Regions from separate parts of the Homo sapiens genome. Here region 1 is linked to region 2. Evidence: promoter capture Hi-C in 16 types of primary human blood cells and fetal thymus (Javierre and others, 2016). All regions are on one chromosome and are shown on one strand. Each heading gives the region's core, a stretch centred on a gene start or on the middle of the fragment in contact. The rest is flanking DNA. Distances are from core to core; before and after follow the strand shown. Region 1 overlaps ZKSCAN5 (zinc finger with KRAB and SCAN domains 5). Region 2 holds the start of ZSCAN21 (zinc finger and SCAN domain containing 21).

Region 1 (7,456 bases), core at 2,555-5,054, 520 kb after region 2:
CAGAGTAGGGAGGATCTCACTATGTTGCCCAGGCTGATCTTGAATTCCTGGGCTCAAGCAATCCTCCTGCCTTGGCCTCTCAAGATGCTGGGATTACAGGCATGAGCCACAGTGCCTGGCCTTATTCTGCCTATTAAAGACAGCACCTTTTAATGGCTGTTGGTTTAAAGAGTGTATGAACCAAGCATGATGGCTCATGCCTATAATCCCAACATTTTTAGGAGGCAGAGACAGGAGTATTCCTTGATCCCAGGAGTTCAAGACCAGCCTGGGCAACATAGTGAGACCCCATCTCTACCAAAAATAGAAAATAAATAGCCTGGTGCTGTGGCCCATGTCTGTAATGCCAGCACTTTGGGAGGCTGAGACGGGTGGACTGCTTGAGCTCAGGAGTTTGAGACCAGTCCAGGCAACATGGCAAAACCCTGTCTCTACCAAAAATACAAAAATGAACCACGTATGGTGGCACATGCCTCTGGTCCCAGCTACTTGGGAGGCTGAGGTGGGAGGATCGCTGGCACCCGGGAAGTTGAGGCTGCAGTGAGCTGTAATCATGCCACTCCACTCCAGCCTGGGTGACAAAGCGAGACCCTGTCTCAAAAAACAAAAAACAAACAAACAATGGTCCCCATGGCCACATGCCCACTGCTGCACCTCTGGCTGTAATGTGAATGGTCTGGGGTGATGTTATATAATAACCAGCCCCTGCAAACCAGGATAGCCACTACCAAGCTTCTCAGTGATGCTGATGGCCCCCCAACCAGGGCATTCCTTGGAACCTTGGTAAACAGAATGCTCTCCAGACCCTCCTAAGGAACATAACTGAAGGTGGGTTGCTTGGTCTTATCTTCTAGTTCCATCCTAGTTTGTGTATGTATGAATCTTTGGATCCCTTTGTTAAGTCTGCCATGGTTTTGTCATCTCTACGTCATTTAATGTGGGCCACTGACTTTTCTAAGCTTTCAAGAATCACTCCAAGGCCAGGTGCAGTAGCTCATGCCTGTAATCCCAACATTTGGGAGGCCAAGGCTGGAGGATCACTTGAGCCCAGGAGTTCGAGACCACTCTGGGCAGCATAGGGAGATACCATCTCTCCAAAAAATGTTTTTTTTTTTTTTTTTTTTTTTTTTAGACACTGTCGCTCTGTCAACTGGGCTAGAGTGCAGTGGCGTGATCTCAGCTCACTGCAACCTCTGCCTCCCGGGTTCAAGCGATTCTCCTGCCTCAGCCTCTGGAGTAGCTGGGACTATAGGCATGCGCCACTATGCCCAGCTAATTTTTGTATTTTAAGTAGAGACCGGGTTTCACCATGTTGGTTGGCCAGGATGGTTTCGATCTCTTGACCTCGTGATCTGCCCGCCTCAGCCTCCCAAAGTGCTGGGTTTATAGGCATGAGCCACCGCGCCCAGCTAAAGTATGTTTTTTAAAAATTAGCCACTCATGGTGGCATGTGCCTGTAGTCCCAGCTATTCAGGAGGCTGAGGTGGCTAGACCACTTGAGCCCGGGAGGTCAAGGCTGCAGTGAGCTGTGATTGCACCACTGCACTCTAGCCTGGGCAGCAGAGCAAGACCCTGTCTATAAAAAAATTAAAAAGCTACCAAGAAGGTCCTCTGACACACACTTGGCATTAAATTGGTGGTTATTTGCCCTGTCATTTTCTTCTCTTCAAGGATTCAGTGACTTTCAGCAAGAGCCACCCAATTCCATAATCTTTATTTTCCTGTTTGTCCCAAACCTCTACAAGTCAATAGATCGCTTTCCACCTGTATCTCATCCCAGTTCCCCACAAGTGAATGACTTAGTGACTGGACAGGTACCACATGCCAGGACTATTAACAGTGATGCGGGTCTTCACTCCCTCCTGGCGAGTGACCAACTCCACAATCCACTCTCACAGCAGCTTCCTATGACCACTTGTGGCACCAAATGTCTTAGATCAGGTTCTCTAAAGCAGAGCCTGAGACAGGGATTCAGAACCATGTGATTGACAGTGTGATTTATTTGGGAAACGCCTTTGAGGGAGGGAATGAAACAGGATAGAGAAGGGAGAGAGCTTAGCACGGATGAAGGCTCAGAAAAAGTCTAGCTTGGCCTGATCCAAGGGTGCCAGAGCAGTCATAGCACCCTGGAGTTTTCTCCGCTTTAATCAAATGAACCAGGTGTTGGGGTGTAGAGAGGAAGTGACTCCTGGGTGAGGTGAGATGGCTCTCATCTCCTGAGGGCAATTCTCCAGTTTCTGGAGAACAAGAGCTGTGAGCACTTGCAGCCCAAACTCAGAGCAGCTGGGGATGGGGGTCTCAGCTTGGTAGAGGGGACTGGACAGGGCACCACAGTGTACAACACATATGGTCAACAAATATTTATTGGGCATTTATTGTAAGCCAGGCAAGTCAGCAGAAACGGCCTGAGCAGTGCCCAAGAGCACTCACTCACTCTCCCTAGCAAACAGGCTCAGAACTCTCTCACACATGTCATCCTCTTTCCCACTCAAAACTCCCACCCCAACCTTCCTGGAAGGCAGGGCTAACAGGACCTCCTGCCTGCCTGCTCACGACTGATTACTTTCAATCCCAGCTGCAATGCAAACTGAAACTCATTCTGTATATCACCACTCTACAGGAGAGGTCTATTTCTGGGGCACCCAGAAGTCAGCACACATACTGCTGGGACCAGGACTCGTAATTCGCCTTGGTCCAACTCCTTCTATGGGTTTAGCTGCCCTCATTCCTGTGGGTAATACAAGATCAAACAGTCCACAACTTTGCCTGTCTTCTCTGCTCCCCTAAGGTCCCTCTCCCTTCGCCGTAAGATGTGACTGACCAGTACAGTTTCTCCTGAATTGACAAACTGAACTACTCCTTCTACCGGCTAAACCCTGACATCAGTAGAATCAAACCAAAAACAAGGTAGAGTGTTTCACAGAGAAGTGGTGGATTGAATAAGGCAGCAGAAACACATACCATCCAGCCCCTGAACCTGAATTTTGCCAAAACAGAGATACTTTAAGTCCATTTCTTTTCAAAGGGGTTAATGCTCAAAGTGGGAATAGTGACTAGGGTATTCTAGTGGTTGGAATAATAATTTCTAGAAAAGGTTCATTGCTGAGGTACCAAAACAGACATCATGCTAAGGAATTCTTTTACTGTGCGCTTCCCTGAATAGATACGCCGTCAAACAAGGCAGAAGCTACAAATAAAGCTTACTTCTACTGAACTCATGAAGCTGTTCCTAGTGTCAGTTTTGAGTTTCAAGTGAAGACTGAATGTCAACTGCAGGCTTTCCGAATTCCTCGACCATGTCCATCCATGGATTCTCTTCTTGTCTAGATTTCCAAGCATGAAGATGCTAACTAAAGCATTTCTCAATGGGGAACACGAAAAGATTTCTATTATTGTGGGTTCTCCGGTGTTCCTAAAGGCTGAGTTATAACTAAAGGATTTCAACCTATTTGTGAGTTTGATGGTAACGCTGGAAAAATGCTTGAAGTTGTTACTTTGCTCATTATAGGAGTATGGTTTCCCTCCAGGAAGGTTTCTCTAAAATTAAGAGCTATTCTACAACAGAGACCCCTCTACACTTAAGGTATTTATGGGATCTGTCCTCTCATGGCTTCTCAGGTGTTTAAAGAGGCTACAACTCCAGCTGAAATTCATTCCACATTCTTTACATTGAAAAGGTTTCTCACCAGTATGGATTCTCTGATGTTGATTAAGATGTGACTTCAGAGTGAAGCCTCTGCCACATTCATGACATTGATGGGATTTTGTGCTGGAGTAGATTTTTTGATGTTGTTTGGTGTGGGAACACTGGCCAACATTTTCTCTACATATATCACATTGATAGGGCTTCTCTGCTGTATGAGTTCTGTAATGCTGAATGAGGTCTGAGCTATAACCAAAGGCTTTTCCACAGATATCACACTGATAAGGCTGCTCTTGTAACTCAATCTTCTTGTCTTCAATCACTGTCAAGTTCCAACTATATGCTTCCTCACAGATGCCATTTTTTTCATTTTTCTGACCCATGTGGAGCACCTGATGTTCAATTAGGCTAACGTACTGAAAAAAGATTTCCCCACATTCACGACACTGATGGGATTTCTCTCGGGAGTGGAGTCGAAGATGTCCAGCCAGGTGGGAACGCCTCCCAAAGCCTTTCCCACATTCGTTACACTTGAAGGGTCTCTCCCCACTGTGCACGCTCTGATGCTGAACAAGGTGGGACCTCACTCTGAAGGCTTTCCCACATAAGGGACAGGTGTAGGGCTTCTCACCTGTGTGGACGCGCTGATGCTGAGTTAGGTGCACGCGTTGGTTGTAGCTTTTCCCACATTCCTCACACCTGAATGGTTTCTCCCCAGTGTGTATTCTTTGATGTTGAATAAGATGTGCACTCTGAATGAAGCTTTTCCCACACTCGTTACATTTATGTGGTCTCTCTCCAGTGGAGGATTTTTTGTGGACATATGGGACTTCACTGTAGTTCATCCTCTTTGAAGATGGTTGTCCTAGTATCTCTTTCATGGGAATTCCCTGCTTTCTATCCAGCTTGCCTTGAAACTCACAGCCTTCTCCAAAATCTTGAACTTGAGAAACATTTCTTTGGGTTTTTCCAGATAGTTCCATGTCTGCTTCTGAATATTCTGAAATTTTCTTCTTAACACTTAATTTTGTGTTCTTACTTCTTTTGTCACTGCCTAAAAAAAATAAAGAGCAAGTGAAAATGTCATCAGTTCTTTTTTTTTTTTGAGATGGGGTCTTGCTCTGTCGCCCAGGCTAGAGTGCAATGATGCGATCTCGGCTCACTGCAACCTCTGCCTCCTGGGTTCAAGTGATTCTCCTGCCTCAGCCTCTCAAGTAGCTGAGACTACAGGCGTGCATGACCACACCCAGCTAATTTTTGTATGTTTAGTAGAGATGGGGTTTTGCCATGTTGGCCAGGCTGGTCTCAAACTCCTGACTTTGGGTGATCCACCCGCCTCAGCCTCCCAAAGTGCTGGGATTACAGGTTTAAGCCACCGTGCCTGGCCCATCAGTTCTTTTATAAAGGAAAAATAAACTGTCATAAAAAATGTTCATCAGATGAAACTATGATGTAACGGGAGTAACAGAGGTGGATGTGTGTGTGTACTTGATGCCAACAGGAATGTAAACAACAAACTTTTGGAATTTTCTGACGAAAAGAGCAAGACTCATCCACAGGATGGCAGAAAATATTTGCAAACTATGCATCAGACAAAGGACTAATATCCAGAATCTACAAGTAACTCTAACAAGTCAACAAGAAAAAAAAAATCCCATCAAAAAGTAGGCAAATGACATGGAGACAGTTCTCAAAATAATATATACAAATGACCAACAAACATGAAAAAAATGCTGAACATCACTAATCATCAGGAAGGTGCAAATTAAAGCCACAATAAGGTACTGCCTTACTCCTGCAAGAATGGCCATTATTAAGAAGTCAAAAGGCCGGGCGTGGTGGCTCACACCTGTAATCCCAGCACTATGGGAGGCCGAGGCGGGCAGATCACCTGAGGTCAGGAGTTCGAAACCAGCCTGGCCAACATGGTGAAACCCACATCTCTACTAAAAATACAAAAATTAGCTGGGCATGGTGGCGGGCGCCTGTAATCCCAGCTACTCAGGAGGCTGAGGCAGGAGAATCGCTTGAACCCAGGAGGCTGAGGTTGCAGTGAGCCGAGACTGCGCCATTGCACTCCAGCCTGGGCAACAGCAAGACTCCATCTCAAAAAAAAAAAAAAAAAAAGGCCGGGTGCAGGTGGCTCACGCCTGTAATCCCAGAACTTTGGGAAGCCGAGGTGGGTGGATCACGAGGTCAGGAATTCAAGACCAGCCTGACCAAGACAGTGAAACCCCATCTCTACTAAAAATACAAAAATTAGCTGGGCATGGTGGTGGGTGCCCTGTAATCACAGCTACTCCAGAGGCTGAGGCAGAGAATTGCTTGAACCCAAGAGGCAGAGGTTGCAGTGAGCCAAGATTGCGCCACTGCACTCCAGCCTGGGCAACACAGCGAGACTCCATCTCAAAAAAAACAAAGAAGTCAAAAAACAATAGATGTTGGCATGGATGTGGTGAAAAGGGAACGCTTATACATTGCTGGTGAGAGATAAATTAATACAACTTCTGTGGATAACAGTATGGAGACTTCTTCAAGAACCAGAAGTAGATCTGCCATTTGATCCAGCAATTCCACAACTGGGTATATCTACACAAAGGAAAAGACAATATACCAAAAAGACTGTAAGCGCCTGTCTTCTGCAGCACAATTCACAACTGCAAAGATATGGAGCCAATCTAAGTGCCCGTTGAGCAATGAGTTGATAAAGAAAATGTAGCAGGCTGGGTGTGGTGACTCGTGCCTATAATCCCAGCACTTTGGGAGGCTGAGGCAGGTGGATCACCTGAGGTCAGGAGTTCAAGACCAGCCTGACCAACATGGTAAAACCTCATCTCTACTAAACATACAAAAATTAGCAAGGGATCGTGGTAGGTGCCTGTAGTCCCAGCTACTCGGGAGGCTGAGGCAGAAGAATCGCCTGAACCCAGGAGGCAGAAGCTGCAGTGAGTTGAGATCACATCACTGCACTCCAGCCTGGGTGACAGAGTGAGACTCCATCTCAAAAAAGAAAAACAAAAAACAAATACATAACTGGGTGGTGAGAACTGACAAAAACTGGAAGAATGAGAGTGAAGGATGATGAAGAGGGTATGCAGTCAGGGAATATCTGACTAGGAGTCAGGAAATAAGGCAAAATGAGCCAACAAGAAGCATTGTCAGAGGGTGGGTGATACAGCAATCCCTGCCCCCTTCACCCTTAGCCAACATTCTAGCCTCAGTTTTCCTCCCCCGGCATGTCATCCTTCTCCTTTGGGAATGCTCATCACCTTTACTATCTGCTACCCCCACCAGACCATCGGCTGCATGAGAGCATGGACTGTATCTCTGTTCTGGTCACTGCAGATCCTGTGCAACTAGCAACACAGACTCTCAATAATATGGCTGGATGTGCAAAACATGTATTCCCCCTTTGATCCAGAAAAATGAGGGAGGACCGGGCATGGTGGCTCACACCTGTAACTCCTAGCACTTGTGGAGGCCAAGGCTGGAGGATCGCTTAAGCCTAGAAGTTCAAGACCAGCCTGGGCAACAGAGCCAGACCCCTTCTCTACAAAAAATACATAAATTAGCTGGGTGTGGTGGTGAACACTTGTAGTCCCAGCTATGCAGGAAGCTGAGGTGGGAGGATTAGTTCAGCCCAGGAAGTGGAGGCTGCAGTGAGCTGAGATCCCGCTACTTTACCCTAGCCTGTGTGACAGAGCAAGACCCTATCTCAAAATACAAAAACGCCCCCGCCCCACAAAAAAAATGTGGAAGGCAAGTGAGTATTCACTGGGAAACTAGCCATAGAAACAATTGCAGGGAAGGTAG
Region 2 (7,472 bases), core at 2,144-4,643:
GATTTATTCTAGGCACATCAGTTCTTTTTTTTTTTTTTTTTGAGATGGAGTCTCACTCCGTTGCCCAGGCTGGAGTGCAGTGCCATGATCTTGGCTCACTGCAACCTTCGCCTCCCGAGTTCAAGTTATTCTCATGCCTCAGCCTCCTGAGTAGGTGGGATTACAGGTGCGTGCCATGCCCGGCTAATTTTTATATTTTTAGTAGAGATGGGGTTTCACCATGTTGGCCAGGCTGGTCTTGAACTCCTGACCTCAAGTGATCTGCCCACCTCGGCCTCGCAGAGTGCTGGGATTACAGGCGTGAGCCACCACGCCCGGTGGTACATCAGTTTTGCGGTGCACACAACTCAAATGTACAATGCATAAAGACTACAAACGAGTAGAGGGCCGGGTGCCCTTCCTCCTTCCTGCACTCACTCTCCTTGGTGATTTCACAAGTTGCATGGTTTTAATTACCATCTATATACTCACAACTGCCCAAACTGTATCTCCAACTTAGACCTCCCTGCTGACCTCCAGACTCATACGACCAACTACCCACTTGCCATTACCACCTGGATGTCCAGTAAGACATCTCAACCTTAACATGTCCAAAATGGAATTCCCATCTCTCCCTCAAAAGCTGCTCATCTCAGCTAATGGCAACTCTCATTGTTCTTTTTACTTGGACCGAAAAACCTGGGGTCATCCCGAATCCTCTTTCACTTTTTTTTTTTAATTTAATTTTTTTATTTTTTAGAGACAGTGTCTTAGCCTGTTGCCTAGACTGGAGTGCAGTGGCACAATCACAGCTCACGGAAGTCTTGAACTCCTAGTCTCAAGCCATCTTCTTGCCTTGGTCTCTCAAAGTTCTGGGGTTACAGGCGTGAACCACTTCACTGGGTCTTTATTTTATTGTTTTTCAATTACAGAGGCAGGGTCTCGCTTTGTTGCCCAGGCTGGCGTGTAGTGGTGCCATGACAGCTCACTGCAGCGTTGAACTCCTGGCCTCAAGCGATCCTCTCACCTCAGCCTCCAAAGTAGCCAGGACTACAGGTGTGCATCACCACATCTAGCTAATTAAAAAAAATTTATTTATTGATTTACTTATTTTTGTAGAAACGAAGTCTTGCTTTGTTGCCCAGGCTGAGGCATAACTTGAGCTCAGGAGTTCCGGGCTGCAGAGTTGTGGCTGTACCACTGTGCTCCAGCCTGGGTGACAAAGGAAAACCCTGTCTCTTAAAAAAATAAAGAAGCATGCGGCTAGAAATCAAATGCTTCATTACTAACTCACATTGTCTACAATCACAGTGACTTTTTAAAAGCTATCTAGACTGTTTATCTCAAGAAGTCCATCAAGCAAAAGTTCATGGTCTATCATAAACAGAAGGCCCTTGTTCTGTGTCCATTTTCCCTCCTCCTTTATGCCAATCTCCCACAGCTTATATGCCCTTATGAAAGCGCCCCAAGTCCATTCTGTAACAAGATGAGGCATAAAAAAATCAAATTACCATAGATTCTAAAAGTAGAACAGCACTTACCCACTTGTGCTAAAATGCTTCACACTCAGTCCGTACCTGAAAATCCCTAGGGGGCCCGGCGCCGTGGCTCACACCTGTAATTCCAGCACTTTGGGAGGCCCGAGGCGGGCAGATCACGAGGTCAGGAGATCGAGACCATTCTGGCTAACACGGTGAAACCCCGTCTCTACTAAAAAATACAAAAAATTAGCCAGGCGTTGTGGCGGGCGCCTGTAGTCCCAGCTACTTGGGAGGCTGAGGCAGGAGAATGGCTAGAACCCGGGAGGCGGAGCTTGCAGTGAGCCGAGATCGCGCCACTGCATTCCAACCTAGGCGACAGAGCGAGACTCCATCTCAAAAAAAAAAAAAAAAAAAAAAAAAAAAAGAAAATCCCTAGATCCCTAGGCAGCCAAATTAGATAATTCTTGAGCCACAGAATTCCACTAATTGTTACAAGTTCTTCCTTTTTTTTTTTTTTTTTTTTTTTTTGAGACGTAGTTTCACTCTTGTTTCCCAGGCTGGAGTGCAATGGCGCGATCTCGGCTCACCGCAACCTCTGCCTCCCAGGTTCAAGCGATTCTCCTGCCTCAGCCTCCTTACAGGCATGTGCCACCACGCCCGCCTAATTTTGTATTTGTAGTAGAGACGGGGTTTCTCCATGTTGGTCAGGCTGGTCTCGAACTCCCGACCTCAGGTGATGCACTCGCCTCGGCCTCCCAAAGTGCTGGATTACAGGCATGAGCCACCGCGCCCGGCCACACAAATTCTTTAACCTGAATCAAATTCCGCATCATTTCAAAAATCCTAGGTTAGTCCAAGACCAATACTCACTTTCTCCATAGCAGCCTTCCAACACTTGAAAACAATTATCTTGCCTCTTAATTCTTTTCCTCTCCACAGCTCAACTGTTCCTTAGATTTCGTGGGTTTCCAAGTACCTCACCCATCAAATCAACGTTCTTTTTTTTTGTGAGACCAAGTGTTGCTCTGTCGCCCAGGCTGGAGTGCAGTGGCGTGATCTCGGTTCAGTGCAACCTCCACCTGGTGGGTTCAAGCGATTCTCCTGCCTCAGCCTCCTGAGTAGCTGGGATTACAGGCGCGCTCCACCACACCCAGCTAATTTTTGTATTTTTCGTGGGGACAGGGTTTGGCCAGGCTGGTCTCGAACTCCTGACCTCAAGTGATCCGCCGGCCTCGGCCTCCCGAACTGCTGGGATTACAGGCGTGAGCCACCGCGCCTGGCCCAAATCAACTTTGTCCTGACACTCTTTTATTTATACATGGTTCTTTAAGACTGTTTTTCTAAACCATGAGCAGATCCCTATTCTGTGTGTGTGTTCTAGCCCGAACAAAGCCCGAGGGGACTATTTCTTCCCTTGGATTTGATTCTACCCAACACTTCTAATGAGGTTCGGCTTCCCACAGGTTTCCAACACCTTGGGCGTATTGCCATCAATGAGCCTTGCGTTCGGACCTCCAGTTCAGAGAAAGGGAAAAAAGGCGGCCACGGTCAGACTGATAGACGGCTTGGCTTGGGGAACGCACAAAAAAAACTATTCTGGAACGCGAAAGAACTTCCAAAACATCTGTTCTTCCAGCTTTCATTTGTTAAAGCCCCAAGTGGAAGAAAAGGCTTTCCAGGCAGCCAGCGCCCCCACCAGCTGGTCCTGGGCGGGGACGAGGAGCTCCTCCCCACAGCCCTGCTAGGACCGGTCTAGGTGGGGTCCTCGGAAGCCACAGCTGCTAAACCCACTCCTCCCTCCCCAGACCATTCAGCCACGGCTCCCTCTCCTGTCCGCCTCGCTAACCCGCGACCAGCAGGCTCACCATGAATCAGAGCCGCTCCGGGTACCGGGAGACCGCACCGCGTACCTCGGGACCGCGCACCCGGAAGTGCGTCATAGCCCCGCCCCCGCGGAAAAGTAGTGCGGGGCCGTAGCGGCCCCTCTAGAAATTCGGGAGGTCCTCTCTGTGTCTCTGGCCCTTGGGACATCAGGGAGGAGTTGAGTCCACCCCGAAAATGAAAAGCCAGGGACTCTTTCTGTTTTTACCGAAGACGGTCAGACCAGATGAAGGCTGCGGCGGTTCTCTCACCCAACCCCGACGCCCTGGGGCAGGGAGGGCATGGGCTGAGGCAGCCACCTCGGTCACCCTCGTGGACTTCAGAGCCCAAGGTCCCTGAGTACCCTTGGGATAAGCACAGGGTTCCTTGTCCATAAACCTGGATCGAGGTCACTGGATACCCTTGGGCCCAGCTCCTCGGTCCAGGTTTATGGACATGGAACGCTGTGCTTGGCCCGTGAAGCCAGAGATTGAGTTAATACTTCGTTGATGAAAACAATCAAACTGTAAAATATTTGAAGACATTTATTTTGAGACAAATATGAGTGACCAATGGCCCAAGGTACAGTCTCAAGAGGTCCTAAGAACATGTACCTATGATGGTCGGGCTACAGCTTGGGTTTATACAATTTAGGGAGACATAAGACACCAATCAAGACATGTAAGATGAACATTGGTTCTGTGGGAAAGGCAGGACAATTCCAAGCGGGGATGTTCCAAGTCATAGGTGAACTCAAGGATCTTCTAATGGGCAACTGGCTGAAAGTTATTGTCTAAAGACCTATAATCAATAGAAAGGAATGTCTGGGATGACTAAGGCAGGGGTCCCCAACCCTTGGGGCACAGACAGATACCAGTCCATGGCCTGTTAGGAACTGGGCCGTTACTGCAGGAGGTGAGCTGCAGGAGCAAAGCTTCACCTGTATCTACAGCCACTCCCCATTGCTCTAATTACTGCCTGAGCTCCGCCTCCTGTCAGATCAGCCATAGCATTAGATTCTTACAGGAGCACAAACCCTATTGTGGACAGTGCATGCGAGGGATCTAGGTTGTGCACTCTTTATGAGAATCTAATACCTGATGATCTGTCGCTGTCTCCCATAATTCCCCAATGGAACCCTCTAATTACAGGAAAACAAACTCAGGGCTCCCACTAATTCTATGTTATGATGAGTTGTACAATTATTTCATGATATATTACAATGTAATAATAATAGAAATAAAGTACACAATAAATGTAATGTGCTTGAATCATCCTGAAACCACGAAACCATCCATCCCCCTCCTGCCATCCATGGAAAAAACTGTCTTCCACAAAACTGGTTCCTGGTGCCAAAAAAGGTTGGGGACCGCTGAACTAAGGGGTTGTGGAGACCAGGGTTCCCATTATGCAGATGGAGCCTCCAGGCAGCCGGCTTCAGAAAGAACAGACTGCAAATATTTCTTATCAGACTTTAAAAAGTGCCAGACGCCCAGTTGATTCTCTCCTGGATCAGGAAAAAGGCCTGGAAAGGGAAGGGGATTCTCTACCAAGTGTAGATTTTCCCCACGAGAAGACAGCTTGGTAGGGTTATTTCAAGATATGGCAAAAAAACATATTTGGGGTGGAAATATTTTCGTTTCCTTCTTTATCTGCCATGTGATGTTATGCCAGAGCCTGGTTGAAAAGTCAGCCAGGTTATATAAAGTTAAATAAAACCTGTCTGATGAGGCTTTATGGTTTGAAGGGGGTGACTCTCCAGGCCCCTTAGATAGTAATTTGGGCAAAAGAAGAAAACAGTCAGAGTTTAGTCCTCAACTTTGCAGACCAGGGTCATGGTGACATCAATCAGAAGTAGCCTTGCCCTTCTGTGGGTCCTAAACTTCCTGAGCAGAAGACCTAGGGGCTGAACTCCTTCCAATGCTGCAGGACTCGATGAAGATGTCTTTGCCTGCCTTTTCCTCCTGCTGCTCTGGCTCAGCTGCAGGTTTCCAGACTGAAGAGTCTGTATTTTCCACCTCAGCACTACTCCATCGGGCCCCCTGTGAGTTTGCTTTTGTCTGGTCCTGCAAAACTCACATGTGTTGAGGAACACCAATATGGCTGCCTGCACGTGGAATTCCCTGTCCATACGCGTCATGAATTCATAGATACTCAATATCATTTTTCCCTGACATTTTCCAGGATAATTTAAAAATTTTTTATGTTTAAAGACATGCAAAATTAGAGAAAATGAGCCTCCATGTGCATTCTTTTGTTTCTTTCTTTTTTTTTTTTGAGATGGAGTCTTACTCTGTCGCCAGGCTGGAGTGCAGTGGTGCAATCTAGGCTCACTGCAACCTCCGCCTCCTAGGTTCAAGCGATTCCTCTGCCTCAGCCTCCCGAGTAGCTGGGACTACAGGCGCGCACCACCACGCTCGGGTAATTTTTTATTTTTTTTTGTATTTTAGTAGAGACAGGGTTTCACCATGTTGGCCAGGATGGTCTTGATCTCCTGACCTCATGATCTGCCCGCCTCGCCCTCCCAAAGTGCTGGGATTACAGGTGTGAGCCACCGTGCCCGGCTGTTTCTTTACTTCTCTAATAAACTTGCTTTCTCTTAAAAAAAAAAAAAAATGAGCCTTGGCAGGGCACGGTGGCTCACGCCTGTAATCCCAGCACTTTAGGAGGCTGAGGCAGGCGGATCACAAGGTCAAGAGATCGAGACCATCCTGGCCAACATGGTGAAACTCTGTCTCTATTAAAAATACAAAAATTAGCTGGGTGTGGTGGCACATGCCTGTAATCCCAGCTACTCGGGTGGCTGAGGAAGGACAATTGCTTGAACCCAGGAGGCAGACATTGCAGTGAGCTGAGATTGCACCCCTGCACTACAGCCTGGTGACAGAGTGAGACTCTGTCTCACCAAAAAAAAAAAAAAAGCCTCCATATACATTGGCCAGCTTTAACAATTGTTACATGGTTAGTCCTTTTAATTCATTCCCCCATGGTCTTGAACTCGTGACCTCAAGTGATCCACCTGCCTCAGCCTCCCAAAGTGCTGGGAGCCACCGTGAGCCACTGTGCCTGGCCCCAAAATCTCCATTTTATAGACCAGGAAACAGGCTCCAAAAAGTCACTTTTCCAATATCACACAACTGATACGTGGGAGCATCAGGAGTGAAACTTGGCCCCCTTTCTCCAAAGCCTGTGCTCTACTGCCTCTCAGTTAGACGGGGAAGAAAGAGATGGGAAATGGAAACAGGATCACCAGGACAGAGGGAAGAACCGGGAAACCTACACACATTTCAAGAGCCACACCTGTGTCGATGCTTTGGTGGGGCTCCATTCAGCCTCTTGGTCAACGGGTCTTTGTCTAGTTATGAAACCATTAAGTGGTTATGCTGGGGCTTGAAGAAAATCCATCTATTTCCAAACCCATTGTCCTTTCCAGGGCTGAGATGCTCCTCAAGCAAAGGGGCTTAGAGCTGCTGTAAAATATTAACGTCAAAAGAGACCTTAAGGACAATCTGGTTAAACTCTTGTTTCTTGTTTTCAGTTGAAGAAACCAGTGCCTGAAGAAGTCGGATCCAAGGTACACTAGTTAGCTAATTAGTATCAAAGCTGAGAGCACAAGCCAGATTCTCCAATCCTGTGTGCTTGCTGTGTCTCAAGAGATTTTTTATTTTTATTTATTTATTTGCGGTAGGGCCTCACTCTGTTGCCCAGGCTGGAGTGCAGTGGTGTGATCATAGCTCACTGCAGCCTCCAACTCCTGGACTCAAGTGATCCTCCCACCTCAGCCTCCCGAGTAGGCACATGCTACCATGCCTGGCTATTTTTCTAAAAAATTATTTCTTTTTTTTTTTTTTTTGAGACGGAGTCTCGCTCTGTCGCCCAGGCTGGAGTGCAGTGGCGTGATCTCGGCTCACTGCAAGCTCCGCCTCCCAGGTTCACACCATTCTCCTGCCTCAGCCTCCCGGGTAGCTGGGACTACAGGCACCCGCCACCATGCCCGGCTAATTTTTTGTATTTTTAGTAGAGACGGGGTTTCACCGTGTTAGCCAGGATGATCTCGATCTCCTGACCTCGTGATCCACCCGCCTCGGCCTCCCAAAGTGCTGGGATTACAGGCGTGAGCCACTGCGCCCAGCCCCTAAAAAATTATTTCTA

Evidence for each region. Contacts are between HindIII fragments. The CHiCAGO score rates a contact against its expected background, and 5 or more counts as called.
Region 1: a contact is called between a fragment that was not itself captured here and the fragment with the promoter of ZSCAN21 in region 2, in 5 of 17 cell types (M2 macrophages, erythroblasts, endothelial precursors and 2 more). The highest score is 6.9, in M2 macrophages.

What each region holds. Positions count from the first base shown.
Region 1 is chr7:99,528,349-99,535,804 of GRCh38, reverse strand. ZKSCAN5 (zinc finger with KRAB and SCAN domains 5) reads right to left here. Exons shown (of 7, transcript NM_145102.4): 7 at 1,105-4,697. The coding sequence ends at 3,556. Among named protein-coding and RNA genes, the nearest start is that of FAM200A, 20 kb to the left of the region's middle. The HindIII fragment of the contact is 1,206 bases long and covers 3,202-4,407 here.
Region 2 is chr7:100,045,695-100,053,166 of GRCh38, reverse strand. ZSCAN21 (zinc finger and SCAN domain containing 21) reads right to left here and starts at 3,393. Exons shown (of 4, transcript NM_145914.3): 1 at 3,326-3,393. RefSeq lists an enhancer at 2,872-3,491. The HindIII fragment of the contact is 10,625 bases long and covers 1-4,256 here.